2 separate regions of the Homo sapiens genome follow, and region 1 is linked to region 2. The links are contacts of gene promoters, found by promoter capture Hi-C in human tissues and cell types (Jung and others, 2019). All regions are on one chromosome and are shown on one strand. Each heading gives the region's core, a stretch centred on a gene start or on the middle of the fragment in contact. The rest is flanking DNA. Distances are from core to core; before and after follow the strand shown. Region 1 overlaps ZSCAN29 (zinc finger and SCAN domain containing 29). Region 2 holds the start of EPB42 (erythrocyte membrane protein band 4.2).

What was found. The method cuts DNA at HindIII sites, captures the fragments that hold promoters and counts their contacts. A contact is called where the count stands out against the background at its distance.
Region 1: a fragment that was not itself captured here is called in contact with the fragment with the promoter of EPB42 in region 2 in 1 of the 25 tissues and cell types used here (pancreas).

Annotation. Positions count from the first base shown.
Region 1 is chr15:43,363,204-43,367,759 of GRCh38, forward strand. ZSCAN29 (zinc finger and SCAN domain containing 29) reads right to left here. Exons shown (of 6, transcript NM_001372080.1): 4 at 2,907-3,605; 5 at 712-1,179. Among named protein-coding and RNA genes, the nearest start is that of ZSCAN29, 5.6 kb to the right of the region's middle. The HindIII fragment of the contact is 3,910 bases long and covers 228-4,137 here.
Region 2 is chr15:43,218,450-43,222,653 of GRCh38, forward strand. EPB42 (erythrocyte membrane protein band 4.2) reads right to left here and starts at 2,569. Exons shown (of 13, transcript NM_001114134.2): 1 at 2,367-2,569. The coding sequence starts at 2,376. The HindIII fragment of the contact is 9,374 bases long and covers 1-4,204 here.

The sequences.
Region 1 (4,556 bases), core at 933-3,432, 140 kb after region 2:
CCCGACCTCAGGTGATCTGCCCGCCTCGGCCTCCCAAAATGCTGGGATTACAGGCATGTGCCACCATGCCCAGCCTTAAGTAACCTTCTCTAAGTCACTTAACTAATAAACAACAGAGCCCAGATTCACATACGTACACATATATGACTCTGAAATCAGAACTCTTCTCACAAGGATGGAAGCCCTTGTGAAGTATTTTTTTCTTATCTAGCAGCTAAGATTCAAAGGGTCAGTTCTCTCAGGAACCTCAGATTCATAAAAGTGAACAACAGTTATCAGATTTTCATAAATGTGAATAAAGCAGACATACAGCTGGTATATGAGCTGAAACTAGAAGAAGACATATAAAAGAGAATGAACTTTTAAAATCAACTTCATCCTACCGTGGGTACGTGACATGCTACTTGAGAAATGTGAGCTTTCAGATTCCCTGCTTAGTAAACTGGTTGGAAACCTAGTGGTTCATGAATAAATCACAGCAAATTTACAATGTGCAGCTATCTCAGATTGATGCTCTAGTGTGGGAAGTCAAGTCACATAAATAATTTATATCCCCTCAGTGAGCTGCTTTAATAGACAAGAAATATGGGTGGTCACAAGAAGAATCCATGAAAGCTGGGTGTAGAGGCCAGTTCTCAATCAGATGATATTTTTCCTAAGTCCCATTGTCTTCCCTTTGTTATTTATACCATAATAGTGAAATAATCTTACCACGGGGGCTTTGGAATAACACTGGAGCACGGGTTATGACAGCCCCTGGGGGTATCTCAGTATCCTCTTCATCATCATCAGAATCTTCCTCTGTGGCCTCGTCTGCTTCCTCAGCTTGCTTCTGAGCTTCAGCCTCACTGGTCCCCTGGACGGGGCAAGAAGCAGTCTCTTCCTGGCCATCATTGGGTGGGGCAGCAACCCGGACACTCACCAAAGCATCCATCTCTTCAAAGAAGGGACAGGTCTCTGGTGCCTGGCCATTCTTAACTTTCCGATAGCTGGTTTGCAGGCTTTTAAACTTGGTCCGACACTGTTCTGGGGTCCTAAGAAAGCCATATTCCCATAACCTCTCAGCCACTGCTCCATACAGCTGGCTGTTGCGGTGACAGTTCCGGAGGGCTTCATAAAACTGGGTCTCACTAAGAATTGCAAGGTAAGTCTTGGTCTCTTCATAGCCCCAGTGTACACCTGCCACCAGAAGAGAAATTTCAGCACCACTTAATCCAGAGCTTTAGAGCCTGAATTCCTCAGTCCTATCATCTGCATCATGAGAATTCACCTAAGCTCAGGCTCCTAGATGAAAAAGTAAAAATACTTCATGTTTCCAAAATCCACAAACTCAGTATAGAATGTTTTGCTTCTTTATATCCTTTAGCAATTTCACAGAGACCTTTATTTACAAATTCTGTTTAGCCATATAAAAAAGAAGCTGGCCAGGCACAGTGGCTTATGCCTGTAATCCCTGTGGATCGCTTGGGGCCAGGAGTTTGAGACCAGCCTGGACAACATGGTGAAAGCCTGTCTCTACTAAAAACACAGAAAAATTAGCCAGGCGTGGTGGTGTGCACCTATAGTCCCAGCTACTTGGGAGGCTGAGGCATGAGAATCGAGAATCGCTTGAACTGGGGAGGTGGAGGTTGCAGTGAGATGAGATCACACCACTGCACTCCAGCCTGGACAACAAAGCGACTCTGTCTCAAAAAAAAAAAAAAAAAAAAAAAGTGAAAGAACAATGATAATGAAAATAACATTGAGCACATGTGCCACATTTAATTAACCTACATATATTTGTGTCTGCAACAAAAAAGGAAAAAGAGAATGAAGAAAACAAGAAAAATAAAGAGAAACGAAAAAGCAGAAGACACAAAGACCAGAAAGCTAGAACAGAACTAAAATAAGATCATGCATGTCACAAAAAACAGAAGGAAAAGACCACTGCTCACAAAGGAACTGCAACTTTAGCGATGTAGTCCTCCTGCTTTGCCCCATTTTACACTTGAGGAAATGGAAGCTTAGAATGGTTAGATAACTGCTCAAGGTCGCCCAGTTTATTAGTGGTCATCAGGATTAGAATCTAAGCCTCCTGAGTCATACTTTGGTGCTCTTTCCATAACAGCATAGTTGTACCGATTACATTAATGGTAGTAAATGATACTTTAAAAAGGATTCCATAGGCAAGAATATTTAAATAGAGTGTTAAACAAGCTTTCTCACTGTAGGACTTCTCAATCCTGTTAAAATGCCAATGTATACTATGAATCTCAGAGGAAACTTAGATGTTTCCCAGCTCAGTGTGGTGGCTCACACCTGTAGTCCTAACTACTCAGAAGGCTGAGGTGGGAGGACTGCTTGAACCCAGTGAGACCAGCCTGGGCAACACAGCAAGACCCTGTCTCTGTTTAAATATATTTTAAAATTTTTAAAGAAAAAAATGTTTCCCCAACTTTGGACAATTCTTCACTGTACTATTCTAAGTAAAAACGAATATAATAAACTGACTTTGAGCTTTGGGGAAGTAAAAGATAAAATATGTAAAACATCAAGTTCATATGACATACTCAATAAACACTGGTTCTACTTAAAGATAATATTGTGCCACATTTTTCTCAGTGAGCCTGCTGCAATGATTTTAAAATCAGGGAAAAAAATAGTTTAGTAAAGAAATGGAAGGAATGATACTCCTTCTCAGGACTGTGAATTTTCTGAGTGTATTTCTTCTAAAAATCTAAATGTATTCCCAATTATCTCACTGATTTTCCCATAAAAGAGAATGAAATACACACAAAGAATGGAGAAGCACTTCTTTGTTCCCTAAGTGGCAAAGCTGGCATGTGACATTAAGCCTTCTGACTCCACATCCAGTCTCTTTGTTCCCCAAGTCTAATTCCAAAACTCCAAGAAGAAAAGCTTCTTACCACCTGGGCTTCTGAACACAACAGGTGCAGCTGAGTTGGGGTCCTGGGGGGTCGCCTCTAGATCCATGTCATCACTGTCAGACTCCTGAGCCACAGCCTCTTCTGCTCCCTCCTCATGCTGCCAGCCCCTCTGCCCTGGCTCTTCAGTCTCAGCATCGCTGCCTACCAGGCCAGAGTGAGAGGCTGCTGCTTCCAGGCCATTACTGGGCAGGGCAATGACCTGAGCACTCATCAGGGCTTCCATCTCTTCAAAGAAGGGGCAGGTCTCAGGTGGGTGGCCGCTCTTGACTTTCCGATAGCTCTTCTGGAGACCTTTGAACTTGGTCCGACACTGTTCCAGGGTCCGGAGGAAGCCATATTCCCTGAGCCGCTCAGCCACAGCCCCATACACTTGGCTGTTCCTATGGCAGTTTCTGAGAGCCTCATAAAACTCAGTCTGGCTGAGAATTGCGAGGAGCGTTCTGGTCTCTTCATAGCCCCAGTGCACACCTGCCACCTTCTCATCTTCAAAGCTCCAGTGATCCTGTTCCACCCAGCTTCTTCTATCTTTCTTGGATGGTAACAGATCAGCATGCACTCGTCTGTCTCCTATGTGGCTGCCACTTGGAAGTTCTTTCTCCTTAGAGCCCAGCAGATCTGGGATCCATGGCTCTCCTTGCTCCAACCTGGAGACCACACCGGATTTAGGAAATGGCAATCCTGCTTGCAGGGAAACAAACAAAAGTTGTCATAGTTTGGACTGATTATCACAAAAATCTTGAAATTCAGTCCTGCCTTTTTCATCCAAGAGGATTATAAACAAAGTGTCTAGGGAAATGTTTTCAGAAAGTTCAGTGGGCTGAAAAAGGTGGGGAAAATACAGGAAACCTCAAAAGATGAGAAATGTTTTATTTTCCAGAGCAGGGTGACAAGAGAGGAAAGGATTCTGTTGTGTGTTCAGAGCAGATAATTCTATTCCAAGCTCTCCTATTTGTAGGCAGGTCCTAGTACTGCTGGGAATAATTGTTCTTCACTTGGGGCTACAGAATTAAACTCGGCGTGATTTCAAGGGGGAAGCGAGAGAAGATTGTCTTTACCTTATCCGTTTCCTTCACAGTCAGTCACCAGGTTCTAAAGGTGTTCACCTTAGTAGTCCTTCCTCTCTATTCCTACTGCCACCATCCAAGTCCAGACTACTTATCCTCTCACACCCAGATAATTGCAGCAGTCACTGTTCTACCTAACCGCAGGCTCTTGCTTGCCAGTGCACATGCTACCCTGGTGAACCTTAACCTTAGTGCCTACCATACCCATTCCTGTCAGACTCTTCCCTTCAGAACACAGCACACTGTTGTTCACCACTCTGTGCCTTTACTTTTAATTCCCTCCTATCCAATTTTAGCCCATCCTTCAAGAGGCTGTATTTGCCAGTGCCCTCAAGAAGCCTTACCGTCAGCCCTCCCTCATCTCCCACTCTGACAAACCCATACGGTACTCACACAATTGGGCAAGTCATTGTCTGGCACTGTTTCAGTTCAGTTCAGTTCGGCACATACTTAAGAGTTAGCTATAGTGTTCTCAATCATGTTTTTAAGTTCTTTGAGGATAGGCACATTTTCTTATTGCAGAGTACCCTGCAAGATGTTGAGCACCTTGACAGGTGTTCAAAAA
Region 2 (4,204 bases), core at 1,319-3,818:
CCTGGCAGAGGTCAGTCCTCTGGACTCCCACAGTACTCTGCTCCACTTTCTTCAGCACTTATCCCATTTGATACCCATCACCTGCTTAGTCCTCTGCTCCCCTTTTCACTGTGAGCTCCCCAAGATACAGTGCTTTCTCATATCTGCATCCTCTGTCCCAGCAGAACTCAATAGATAGCCAATCAGTGTTTGCTCCGTCAATGAATGGATGAGAACATTGAGACGGCCTTAAAGGAGATTTTCTCAGATACATCACAGGGGCCTCAGGCCCCCACCTGTGCTGCCAGACCCTCGCAGGGCCCCTGAGGTTTCTGCATTCTTTAGGTCTGCCTGGTTTCTTGGTTTATCTCTGCCTCTGCCCCTTTTAGGTGGATTCATTGACTCCTGCCTCCCCTTCTCTCCCACTGGGTCTTGAGGCAATGATACCTTCGTGTTTTCTCACCATCTCCTATTTGTACCACAGCCCATGAGAAGTTGTGTTAACCCGGAGATCATGTGGAATGCTCTTCAGAGGTGCACAATACCCCACCCTCCTCCCTCTCTGCCTTTCACAATACCCCAGAGCTGCCTCAGATGTGCCCCTCAAGCAGTTCTGTGTTTAACGACTGGCTGGGGGGAGGGGGCGGTGAGGGGAAAGGGCGTACTGAGTTACAGCATTTGCCAAGTTCTGTTGTGTAAACTACGCCCCCTGTGGCCAGTCTGAAGCTACTGAGGTGATGTCAGCAAGCGCAGAGCTGTGAAGAGGCGCGGACTGGCACATCATCATGTGGTTTTTCCAGCACAGAGATACAGGAGACATAAACGCCCTCAAGAACATAAAGGTAAAAAGGAGTAAAATACGTAGGAAGTGATGAGTTTAGAGTACTTATTATCTTTCTTTTTAATATAAATTTTTTACTTGTAAGTTTATACAATTTAATTTTTAATAATGCCTGTGTTTAAGAACTGGTTCACAAGGTTCCTCAAAATTTAGCAATTGGCTCTTGCAAGTCAGCACAAGCCAGCTCCAGCCACTGCAGCATGTCATGAGTTCATACTCAGTGATTCTCATCTGGTGGCTACTGGGCCCTCTGCCACCCACTGCCTGGAAAGAATTTAGTGCCCAGGGGCATCCTCTGGTTTGGGACTAGACTAAACAATCTCCTGATATCTTTGTGTTTCTCTGATTGAGTAGATTTTAATTTGTCTGGTCTCTACAGAATAAAAAGAACGATTTGGCCAGGCGCAGTGGCTCACGCCTGTAATCCCAGAACTTTGGGAGGCCGAGGCGGAGGATCACGAGGTCAAGAGATCGAGACCATCCTGGCCAACAAGGTGAAACTCCGTCTCTACTAAAAATACAAAAAATTAGCCGGGCATGGTGGTGGGTGCCTGTAGTCCCAGCTACTCAGAAGGCTGAGGCAGGAGAATCACTTGAACCCAGGAGGCGGAGGTTGCAGTGAGCCGAGATTGCGCCACTGAACTCTAGCCTGGTGACAGAGAGAGACTCCGTTTAAAAAAAAAAAAAAAAAGGACAATTTATTGGTGTCTGCCCTATTTTCACAAGACGTGGCTGAGATTATTGACTTAATTCACCCAGAGTTCTTTTTCTTCCCTTCTCAGCTGTTGGTCTCAGCGTCAGTTGCCCTCCGCACACCAGACCAACCAGGGCAGGGGAGTGAGGCAGTTTCTATAGCAACAGAACCACAGCTGCACCCCACTGTCCCCACACCTCTGCACCATTTCCCTCTGCCTACCCGCTTGCTTCTCCCAGGACACAAAACAGCCAGGCAATTCCCAGGCCAGGATATAATAATTCCTGCCAAGAGTGCTGCGACTCTGACCACCTGTGTTGGTTTCTTGCTTTGTGTCTGCCTCTGCCCCTTTTAGGTGGATTCCCTGACTCCCTCCTCTCCTTCTCTCCCATTTGGTGTAGAAGCTGTGACACCTTCATGCTACCCAGGGTGTCTCTCATTTGTATCAGTAAGCTGTGAACACTTATGCTATGATGACCTTGGGATAAGAATATAAATCCATGTTAACCACCATCACCATCTCACCATCATACAACTATCATGACCAGTTTACCCCAACATGCTACCCCATAACCACCCCACAGCAACATCACCATCACCTCCGCCTCCGCCTCCACCAGCACCCATCATCACACCACGCTCCACAGCCAGCTCACTATCACCTCTACCAGCACCCACCTACCACACCCCCCCCCCACAGCCACCTCATTATCACCAGTACCCCCTCCCCCACCATAGTTATACCACCATCTCCCCGCCTACCATCCATCCCACTTCCTTTAATGAAAACAGGTGATGCTGCGGGGGCTGCATACAGTCCAGCAAGCCCTGTCGAGCGCTGGCTTGGCTCACCCTGTCCCATGGTTGCAGGCCGCTCCTCTTATCCACTTGGCCGCAGAAAGCGCCTCTCTCAAACTGTTGCTTCTGGGCTCCTTCTGGGCTTTCTGTCTTCCAGACAGAAAATATGAAGGCACTTTTGTTGGCTTAAGAATCTGGAAATAGCAAAACCTCCCCCCACTACTCCTGTGAGCACCCTGACATGTTTCTTCTCTCCTACTCCCTCTCTGCTGGTATCTCCTGGACCAGTTACTGGGAGTAACCCTGTTCATTTTATCTCTTGTGCCAGGAGGCCCAGGCAGGAATACGCCTGGCAGCCCTGGGGGAGGGGGTGGGATGGGGAAGACCTGCCAACTAGAGAAGCCTAGAACAAACCTTGAAGCCTCTTGCTTCAGTGGTCTCAAGAGACTCTCAGAGATGTTATCTGGACTGCACTGGAAGACTCTGGAAGAGAGGAGGCCACAAACAGGAGTCCCATATCCAACTCCAAATCTCAGGCCCTAAACGTGACAGGGGCTGCAAGTTGCAAGATGTTCATGGGCTGTTTTGATAATAGAGAGAACACGTGCATCTGCAATTTATCTGTGTGAAAAAGATAAGGAAGTAGAATTTGTTGGTGAAAAATAAATGTATTAAAAGTAGAAGCTGGGGCCCCAACTCTTCCAAGCCTACCTGGTCTGGGACCCTCTACCAGAGAAGGTTGGGAACTATCTTGGGACTCAGGCCCTATGTCTTTTCAATTTTTCTTTCTTTAGTTCCTGAAGAGACAAGAGAAGGATCTCATATTTGGCCCTACCTGGGCTTGTGAAACTGTGTTACCAGAAGCACTTTCAGGGCAGCTGTACTTGCTGCATATACATGAGACGTCTATAGAATGATATAAAACACACTGCCAAAAATATTGGTTGCCTGTGGGGAGGGGATCTGGGCAGTGGGGTAGAAAGGTTATCTTTCTGCTGTTTACTCTTTTATACTTTTAAAACTTTGAACTTTTGAACTCATTTGAAGGATCTTATTATGTAAAAAAAAAAAAAAAAAAAAAAAATGAAACTTCTGCCTTTCACTAGCGCAGTGGCTCATGCCTGTAATCCCAGCACTTTGGGAAGCCAAGTCAGGCGGATCACCTGAGGTCAGGAGTTCGAGACCAGCCTGGCCAATATGGTGAAACCCTCTCTCTACTAAAAATACAAAAATTAGCTGGGCGTGGTGGCAGGCGCCTGTACTCCCAGCTACTCAGGAGGCTAAGGCAGAAGAATTGCTTGAACCTGGGAGGCTGAGGTTGCAGTGAGCCAAGATCGTGCCACTGCACAGCCAGCATGGAGCAAGACTCCATCTCAGAAAAAAAAAAAAAAATCCTTCATAAGAAATGAAGAAGTTAATTTTTCATTATTTGAAGATGTCATTTTTTACCTGGAAAACTTGAATCTACTAACAATGATTATAAAAGGTAATTTAGTGAGCTGGCTAATACCAAAAGTATAGAAGCCAATAGTTTTCATACCTGCAATCAATAACAAGTCAGAAACTGTAATTAAAGACCCAACCTATAATAGCAACAACAACAAAAGGTGAAATTTCTAGAAATAAACTTAAGAAATGTGAAGTGCTGTCAGTAAAACACTTGGAAACGGTATGGAGGGACACCAAATAAGACTTGAGCAGATAAAAAGGAAGATCACCATCCTGTGTAGGACAACTCAACTTTATAAAGCGGTCATTTCTTCCCAAGTTGATCTTAAGTTTAATTCATTCCCAATAAAAACACCAAGATTGTTTTTTGAAACTAGGTAAACTGATTCTAAGGTTCAAAAGGAAATTTCTAAGATAATAATAAAGTGTGACCAGCCTTCCTA